2 separate regions of the Homo sapiens genome follow, and region 2 is linked to region 1. The links are contacts of gene promoters, found by promoter capture Hi-C in blood cells and fetal thymus (Javierre and others, 2016). All regions are on one chromosome and are shown on one strand. Each heading gives the region's core, a stretch centred on a gene start or on the middle of the fragment in contact. The rest is flanking DNA. Distances are from core to core; before and after follow the strand shown.

Region 1 (4,082 bases), core at 876-3,375:
GAATAGAGACTGGCTGGGAACACAGGACTCTCTGCAGGAAGAGAAGGAAAATGGGAAAGCCTTTCCTAAAGGGCAGACTTCTGCTCCAGCTGGTTCTTCAACCCCTTTTCCAGCATGTCTTATCTCTCAGTTTCTAGGCAGGGATAAAGGGACATGGTCCCTGCTGGAACCCTCTAGACCTGAGAAAGGGTCCCTTCAGAAGATGAATCTCTGTTTGTCTGGGCCACATCCCTGCCGTCACTTTTGCATTTGACTCAAAATCACTGACCTGTTCGAAGAAACGTAAGGGCTTATCTCTTTGCCTCTTCCCATCCCTCTTCCCTACTTCTTTTTGTTTGGGTTTTGGGTTTGTTTTTTTTGTTTTTTTTTTTTGAGACGGAGTCTCACTCTGTCACCCAGGCTGGAGTGCAGTGGCGCGATCTCGGCTCACTGCAAGCCCCACCTCCCGGGTTCACGCCATTCTCCTGCCTCAGTCTCTCGAGTAGCTGGGACTACAGGCGCCTGCCACCACGCCCAGCTAATTTTTTGTATTTTTAGTAGAGACAGAGTTTCACCGTGTTAGCCAGGATGGTCTCGATCTCCTGACCTCATGATCTGCCTGCCTCGGCCTCCCAAAGTGCTGGGATTACAGGCGTGAGCCACCGCACTCGTCCCTGTTGTTGTTTTTTTTTGAGACACAGTCTTGCTCTGCCACTCAGGATAGGGTGCAGTGGCATGATCTCGGCTTACTGCAACCTTTGCCTCCCGGGTTCAAGCAATTCTCCTGCCTCAGCCTCCCGAGTAGCTGGGATTACAGGCGCCCATCACCAAGCCCGGCTATTTTTTTTTTTTTTTTTTGTATTTTTAGTAGAAACGGGGTTTCACCATGTTGGCCAGGCTGGTCTCGAACTCCTGACTTCAGGTGATCTGCCCATCTCGGGCTCCCAAAGTGCTGAGATTACAGGCATGAGCCACCATGCCCAGTCTCTTCTCTACTTTTCTTGCAGTAACAGAATTGTTCAATCTGAATATCCAAGGTGAGACTGTATTCATATATAATCTGGGTAAATGACTGGCAAAATGGCAGGGAAGGAGGAGCTAAGGATGACTCTCCTGGAACCCTTCCTCAACTCCCCACTGCTGCCGCCTCTCCCTTGGCCCTGGGGCACCAAATCCAACCTTTGTCCTGGGCCTCACCTTGGCATAGTAGACGTGGTTGGAGCAACGGTAGTGAGTGAACTGGCAGAAAGACTCAAACCAGGAGGCATAAGGGAGGTTGGAGCAGACAGCACCTGAGAAAGGGCAGGGGTGGAGAAGATGAACCCGTGGGGAGCTTGGGGTGGGGCTGTGGGCAATGGACTCCACGCCATGGGGAGGGTGGAGAGTACGAGCTCATGGTGTGGTGCCAGCCATGCCCTTCCCCGCCTCACATGAGCACAGGGGTTTTTGCCCTGAGGTTTGGGTGAACACTCTGGGTGCCTCGGTTTCCCCCCTAGTCTGGCCCTCACCATCGGGCACTAAGCCGTGGTTTTCATATTGGTCCAGCTGGACGAGTGTGGGATTCCGGCAGCCGTGGGTTGCACGGAGACGGCAGGTAGTCTCTGCCTTCCAGGTTGGAGTCAGCAGTGCGAAGAAGCGTTCGTATTCGGTAGGAGAGAGAGGGCTGCCTGGAGTGGAGGCCTGAGTCGAATCCTGGGCTGCGGCAGGTGCCAGAGGCAGGAGCAGCACTGCGGAGCGGGCGAACGGATGATGGAAGGACCGAACCCCAAAACCCGCTCCGAGACCAGGACAGACAGACCCAGACTGGCAAATTAGGAACGGGGTGAGGGTTATCCCTGCTGACCAGGGCGGGGGGAGTCTAGAGACAGAGGCAAAGGTCCGGCCGCGGGCGGGGGGAGATGGGAGTATCCCAGGACCTAGGGAGCCGACCCAGCGCGACCACCATGAGGAAGCGATCCAGAAACCGTAAAAGCAGAGCTCTCGGGAGGGAGAGGACTAGCCCGGGGAGAGTCTGTTGGAGCAGGTGTAAACCTCTCACCCTTCAGGAGTGAGGGAAGGAAGCCAGCGGCTGGCTTCCTCATGGCCGGAGAAGATCCGCCCGCGTCCCGTGGACACAAGCCGCCTCTAACGGGCCAAGCCGCAGAGAGAGCCGCAGGCGCGGGGCGGGGCGCACGCGGGCACCGCCCACGCGTCACAAAGAGCGGGCCGGGGCGGGGCCTCGACAGCCGGGCTCTCAGGGCCCTAAAGTGGCCAGAGCCCATCCAGATGGTAGGAATGGCAAACAGCTACCTTCACTTAGCGTCTTTTTCTTTTTTTTTTGAGACGGAGTCCTACTCTGTCGCCCAGGCTGGAGTGCAGTGGTGCGATCTCGGCTCACTACAACCTCGGCGTCCCAGGTTCAAGTGATTCTCCTGCCTCAGCCTCCCGAGTAGCTGGGACTATAGGTGCACGCCACCACGCCCAGCTAATTTTTGTATTTTTAGTAGAGATGGTATTTCACCATGCTGGCCAGATGGTCTCGATCTCTTGACCTTGTGATCCGCCCACCTCGGCCTCCCAAAGTGCTGGGATTACAGGCGTGAGCCACCATGCCCGGCCTAATTTTTGTATTTTTAGTAGAGACTGGGTTTCACCATGTTGGCCAGGCTGGTCTTGAACTCCTGACTTCAAATGATCTGCCCACCTCGGCCTCCCAAAGTGCTGGGATTACAGGTGTGAGCCACCGTAGCCAGCCACTTAGCATCTTTACATGCACTACCTTACGTAATTGCCATAGGAATCCCATAAGGTAGATACACTATCATTCGTTTTACAGATGAGAAATCGGGGCTTAGGGAAGCAACTCGCCCAACAAACAGGTCGTGAGGTCTAGAGCTAAGCGCAGGCAGAGATAGAATGTGCAAAACCAAGTCAAGGCCTATCTGGGTAGGAACTAGACAGGGCGCCTCCATGAGCAAAATGGGTCCAAGGGGAAAACAAGAGGGTGGCTCAGTGGTCTACGAAAGTGGTTTCCAAGGGAGAATCGAGTAAGACAGTCCACTGAGGTATGGGAGGAGAACTTTTGCTTTTGTATCTGTTTTGTGTTTAAAATGAGAAATTCCAGCCTGGGCAACAGGGCGAAACCTCGTCTCTACAAAAAGTACAAAAAATTAGCCAAGCGTGGTGGCACGTGCCTGTAGTCCCAGTTTCTTGGGGGGCTGAGATGGGAGGATCGCTTGAGCCCATGAGGCCAAGGCTGCAGTGAGGTGCAATCGGGCCACTGCTCTCCAGCCTGGGTGACAAAGTGAGACCCTGTCCCCACCCAAAAGCAAAAGTAAAAAAGAAAAATAAAACAAGAAATTGTCTTGGGCCAGACTTGGTGGCTCACGCCTGTAATCCCAGCATTTGGGAAGTCAAGGCGGGTGGATTCCTTGAGCCCAGGAGTTCCAGACCAGCCTGGGCAACATGGCGAAACCCTGTCTCTACAAAAAATACAAAAATTGTCAGGTGTGGTGGTGTGCGCCTGTTGTCCCACTTACTACTTGGGGAGGCTGAGGTAGGAGGATCACCTGAGTCTTCAGAGGTCAAGGCTGCAGTGAGCTGAGATCTCACCACTGTGCTCCAGCCTGGGTGACAAAGTGAGACCCTGTCTCAAAAATAAAATAAAATAAAATAAATTAATAAAATAGAGACCAGGCACTGTGGCTCATTCCTGGAATTCCAGCACTTTGGGAGGCCAAGGAGGGTGGATCTCTTGAGGCCAGGAGTTTGAGACCAGCCTGGCCAAAATGGTGAAACTTGGCCGGTGCGATGGCTCATGCCTGTAATCCTAGCACTTTGGGAGACCAAGGCAGGCAGATCACGAGGTCAGGAGATCAAGACCATCCTAGCTAACACGGTGAAACCCTGTCTCTACTAAAAATACAAAAAATTAGCCAGGCGTGGTGGCATGTGCCTGTAGTCCCAGCTACTCGGGAGGCTGAGGCAGGAGAATTGCTTGAACTCGGGAGATGGAGGTTGCAGTGAGCCGAAATCACGCCACTGCACTCCAGCCTGCATGACAGAGTGAGACTCCATCTCAAAAAAAAAAAAAGGGTGAAACCCAGTCTCTACTAAAAATACAA
Region 2 (3,805 bases), core at 1,306-3,805, 260 kb after region 1:
AGCTGGGATTACAGGTGCGAGCCACCACCCCAGCTAATTTTTTGTATGTAGAGACGGGGTTTCACCATATTGGCCAGACTGGTCTCAAACTCCTGACCTCAGGTGATCCACCCGCCTAGGCCTCCCAAAATGCTGGGATTACAGGCGTGAGCCACCACGCCCAGCCTAAATATTACTTTTATAATTGAAAGAGACTCTATCTAGACCAGCCGATGGGGGAAAAATATCAAGGATGTTGTGGAGTATCTAGCTCTCATTACACAGTGTAACTTCAGTCCTTGCCAACTAAACACGAAATAAAACCTTCAATAGCTCCCCACAGCTTTCAGGATAAAGTCCAGATCCTTCAGTGTGATCCAAGTCTGTTTACTGCTTCTACCATATTCCAACCCCCGACTGCACCTACTGTTCCAGCCAGCAGAACCACCTGCTTTCTTTGCACAGGCATTGAGCTCTTTCTTCTCCAAGCATTACCACAGGTGATTCCTGCCTCTGAAATCTCTGCCCCGAATATATGATATCATGTATATGCATATACTATACAATGATCCCTAGCACTTAGTAAAAGCTCTATAAATGTTGGGTATGATTATTATAACATGTCTCATTATATTGAATTACTTGTGTACTTAATCTTGTCACTGAACTGTACACCTCTTGAAGATAAAAGATAAGGACTTCTGTGCTTTACTGTCCCGGAGCACAGGGACAGATTAAGTGCTTAACAAAAGCATGGCAGGGCGCAGTGGCTCATGCCTATAATCCCAGCACTTTGGAAGGCCGAGGCGGGCGGATTGCTTGAGCCCAGGAGTTTGAGACTAGCCTGGGCAACATAGCAAAACCTTGTCTCTACAAAAAATACAAAAAAATTAACTTGGCATGGTGGCGCACACCTGTAGTCCCAGGTACCCAGGAGGCTGAGACGGAAGGACTGCTTGAGCCCAGGAGGTGGACGTTGCAGTGAGCTATGATTGCTCCACCGCACTCCATCCTGGGCGACAGAGGGAAACTCTATTTCAAAACAAAAATAAAAACAAAATAACAAAAGTGTATGTTCAAGGACACCTTCCTAACCCTTACATCACAACTTTTCTTCCCATCTAATGTGTCTTCCTCTTTCTTCTTGGCCAAGGAAACTCATATCCATTTCTTTTGACTACATCAAACCACATGGATTTTTCCCTTCTCCACACTCCAACAATACAATAACTTTCATTTGTATAGCACATCTCACTCTTCAGAGTGTTCATATTTATTATTTCTTTTTCCTCACAGCAACCCCAGTACCAAGGACACAGGCCAGGGGTGGGGAGGAGCAGGAAAATGTTTACTAAGGGTCAACTAAGTGCAAGGCGATTTACCCACATTATCTCTTTTAATCCCTTAACAATCCTTACAGGTGGACGTTTTAATAATCCCCATTTCACGACTGTGGAAATTAGACCTCAGTAAGATTTCATAACCTGCTGAAGGACACACAGGTATTAAGTAGTAGAGATGGGTTTTGAAGCTGGTGTCTCTGACTTTAAAGTCCCTACTGGTTCCATGACACCAAGTAAACAGATTTGCCTATTAACCACATTCCTCCAAGCTGCCCTGGGCAGGAGGTAATATAATACTTCCTGATTTCTTGCCCACCACATCTTCCACCAGACCACTTTGCCGTTATATAAAGTCTGTGGGCACAATTTAACAATGAATCACATGCCATCTTACCTGGTTACCTCATTGTTTCATTTACATTAGATTCCACAACAAGATTGGTAACATCCCCCTTTCCCCAGGCAGGAATTGTGTCATCTTAACCTCCCTGAGCCTCAGTATCCTCTTCTTTCAAATGTCTATCTTACAGGACTGTTGCAGAGATTAAATATCAGTTGTAAAGATGTTTGACATAATGTCTCGCACAAACTCTCCAGAAATATTTATTGCATCTCAACATCTTTTTCATCTCCTTCAACATGTCAGACAGGCCTGAGTGCCTGGGTTTGGCTATGCCAGTTCCTGTTGATTACTGATATAACAACGTTGGATCAGGAGTATTTTAGTGGGCAGATGTTGAATTTTCTGCCTTCCACCCACTAAAAGGTTTGCATCAAACCAGTCCAGGATAACTCATACTGGATCCCTGTCAGTTGATATAGTTAAGCTAATTCTACAGATAACAAAGAGTCTTGGGTACGTTTAGCTAGCAAATGCAGATCTGCCAAGACTCCAACCCAGTTCTTAAGGTATCTGGGTCTGGACTCCTTCCGCTCCACCAAGCCACCTTCCAAAGGTCTACCTGAAAATAACTAATGAGCAGAAACTATAGGGGGAAGGGGAAAAGACCCCTTATCTTGGTGTTTCTTGCTTTTCCTCGCAGCCCCGCCCTTTTTGCTTCGAAGGACGAGTTTTTCCTGAATTCACAATACTTTTGCATTGAAGATGTCCGGTCCCTTTAAGGTCTTGGGTGACGTAATGACTAGCCCCGCCCCCTCTCTTCTCGCTTCTCAGCCCTGCCCACTTCTTTTTGTCCTCAGCCAATTAGCGGCCCAACGCCCCTTCCGCGCCTCATCCGGGTTCCCGGGACGGGAAAGTGGCGTGGTAACCAGGCAACTACTGATCAATCCCCTCCCCGGCTGATTTGCGCATCAGGTAGTCGCCGCTCTACTCTCAACGGTGGCGAGCTGCAGTTGCCAAGTGCCCCGTCCCCGTTGCCATAACAGCAGTACACAACCCCTCCTTCCCCTCGCCCGCTTGCTAAACAGTCCTTCCCTCTCGGGACCAAGGGCCTCTCCAGAACTGCTTCTGATTGAGCAGAAACAGGGTCTGAGCCCCTTTGCTAAGGCGAATTGAGTGGGAGGGTTGGAGACTGCGCTTTAGGCTGGTGTACCAGAGGGCCCAAGGAAATTGGCCCAGTGGGGAGGGAAAAGTAGAAGAAATGAATGGAGCAGGGATTACGGATGGCGCAATGGGAGCTGAGAGGAGAGGAGGAGGAATTGGTAGGGAAGATTGGAGAGCATGGCTTAAGGGGGAGGTGGGAAGAATGGGGGAGAGGGAAGCCCAGGAAATAGGGACACCCGGCTGCTGGAGGAGAGCTGGAGTCACTGTGAAGGACAGGAAAGGCCTGGGGGTGTGGGTGACATCCTGAAGGGAGGGGGTCCTCAGTGGAAAGTGTGAAGTGGGAGTTGAGAATCAAAATGAGATGTTCACAGGGATAAGGAAAGAAGCCTAGAGTTGGTGGGTCAGAAGTCATGGGGGTGATGGGAGTGGCACGTGTCAATGACGATGAAGGAGCTGAAGGCTGGCAGAAGCTGATGAGACCTTCTTTTTCAGGAGGAGGACTGAGCTTATCTGACTCCAGAGCTTTCAGGAGGGAAGAAAGATGTCAGATGAAGATGATCTAGAAGACTCTGAGCCAGACCAGGATGATTCTGAGAAAGAAGAGGACGAGAAGGAGACAGAGGAGGGGGAGGACTACAGAAAAGAGGGGGAAGAGTTCCCTGAGGAAGTGAGAGCCTGGACAAGGAGGGGTCCTAGGGCTGAAGGAGGGGGTTGGGCAGGGGAGAGACACCTTACTCCACTTCTACCTGCAGTGGCTGCCCACCCCCCTCACGGAGGACATGATGAAGGAAGGGCTTTCTCTGCTCTGTAAGACAGGCAATGGGCTGGCTCATGCTTATGTCAAGCTGGAGGTTAAAGAGAGGTGCGTTTTGGGGGGACCAGATGAGGACTGTGAGACTGTAGGGCCCCTATCTCCTTTCCCACTGTCATTCCTGGGTGTTCTGGTTGAGAGTTTGACTCTTCTCATGCCTAGTGGAAA

Evidence for each region. The method cuts DNA at HindIII sites, captures the fragments that hold promoters and counts their contacts. A CHiCAGO score of 5 or more calls a contact.
Region 2: a contact is called between the fragment with the promoter of LRRC23 here and the fragment with the promoter of ACRBP in region 1, in 14 of 17 cell types (activated CD4 T cells, non-activated CD4 T cells, monocytes and 11 more). The highest score is 13.7, in activated CD4 T cells.

The regions. Positions count from the first base shown.
Region 1 is chr12:6,645,307-6,649,388 of GRCh38, forward strand. It overlaps ACRBP (acrosin binding protein), which reads right to left and starts at 2,126. Exons shown (of 10, transcript NM_032489.3): 1 at 2,018-2,126; 2 at 1,488-1,706; 3 at 1,177-1,271; 4 at 1-31. The coding sequence starts at 2,060. RefSeq lists enhancers at 1,547-2,060, 1,984-2,053. The HindIII fragment of the contact is 16,958 bases long and covers 1-4,082 here.
Region 2 is chr12:6,902,267-6,906,071 of GRCh38, forward strand. It overlaps LRRC23 (leucine rich repeat containing 23), which reads left to right and starts at 2,556. Exons shown (of 8, transcript NM_001135217.2): 1 at 2,556-2,809; 2 at 3,319-3,493; 3 at 3,579-3,688. The coding sequence starts at 3,368. The HindIII fragment of the contact is 20,869 bases long and covers 1-3,805 here.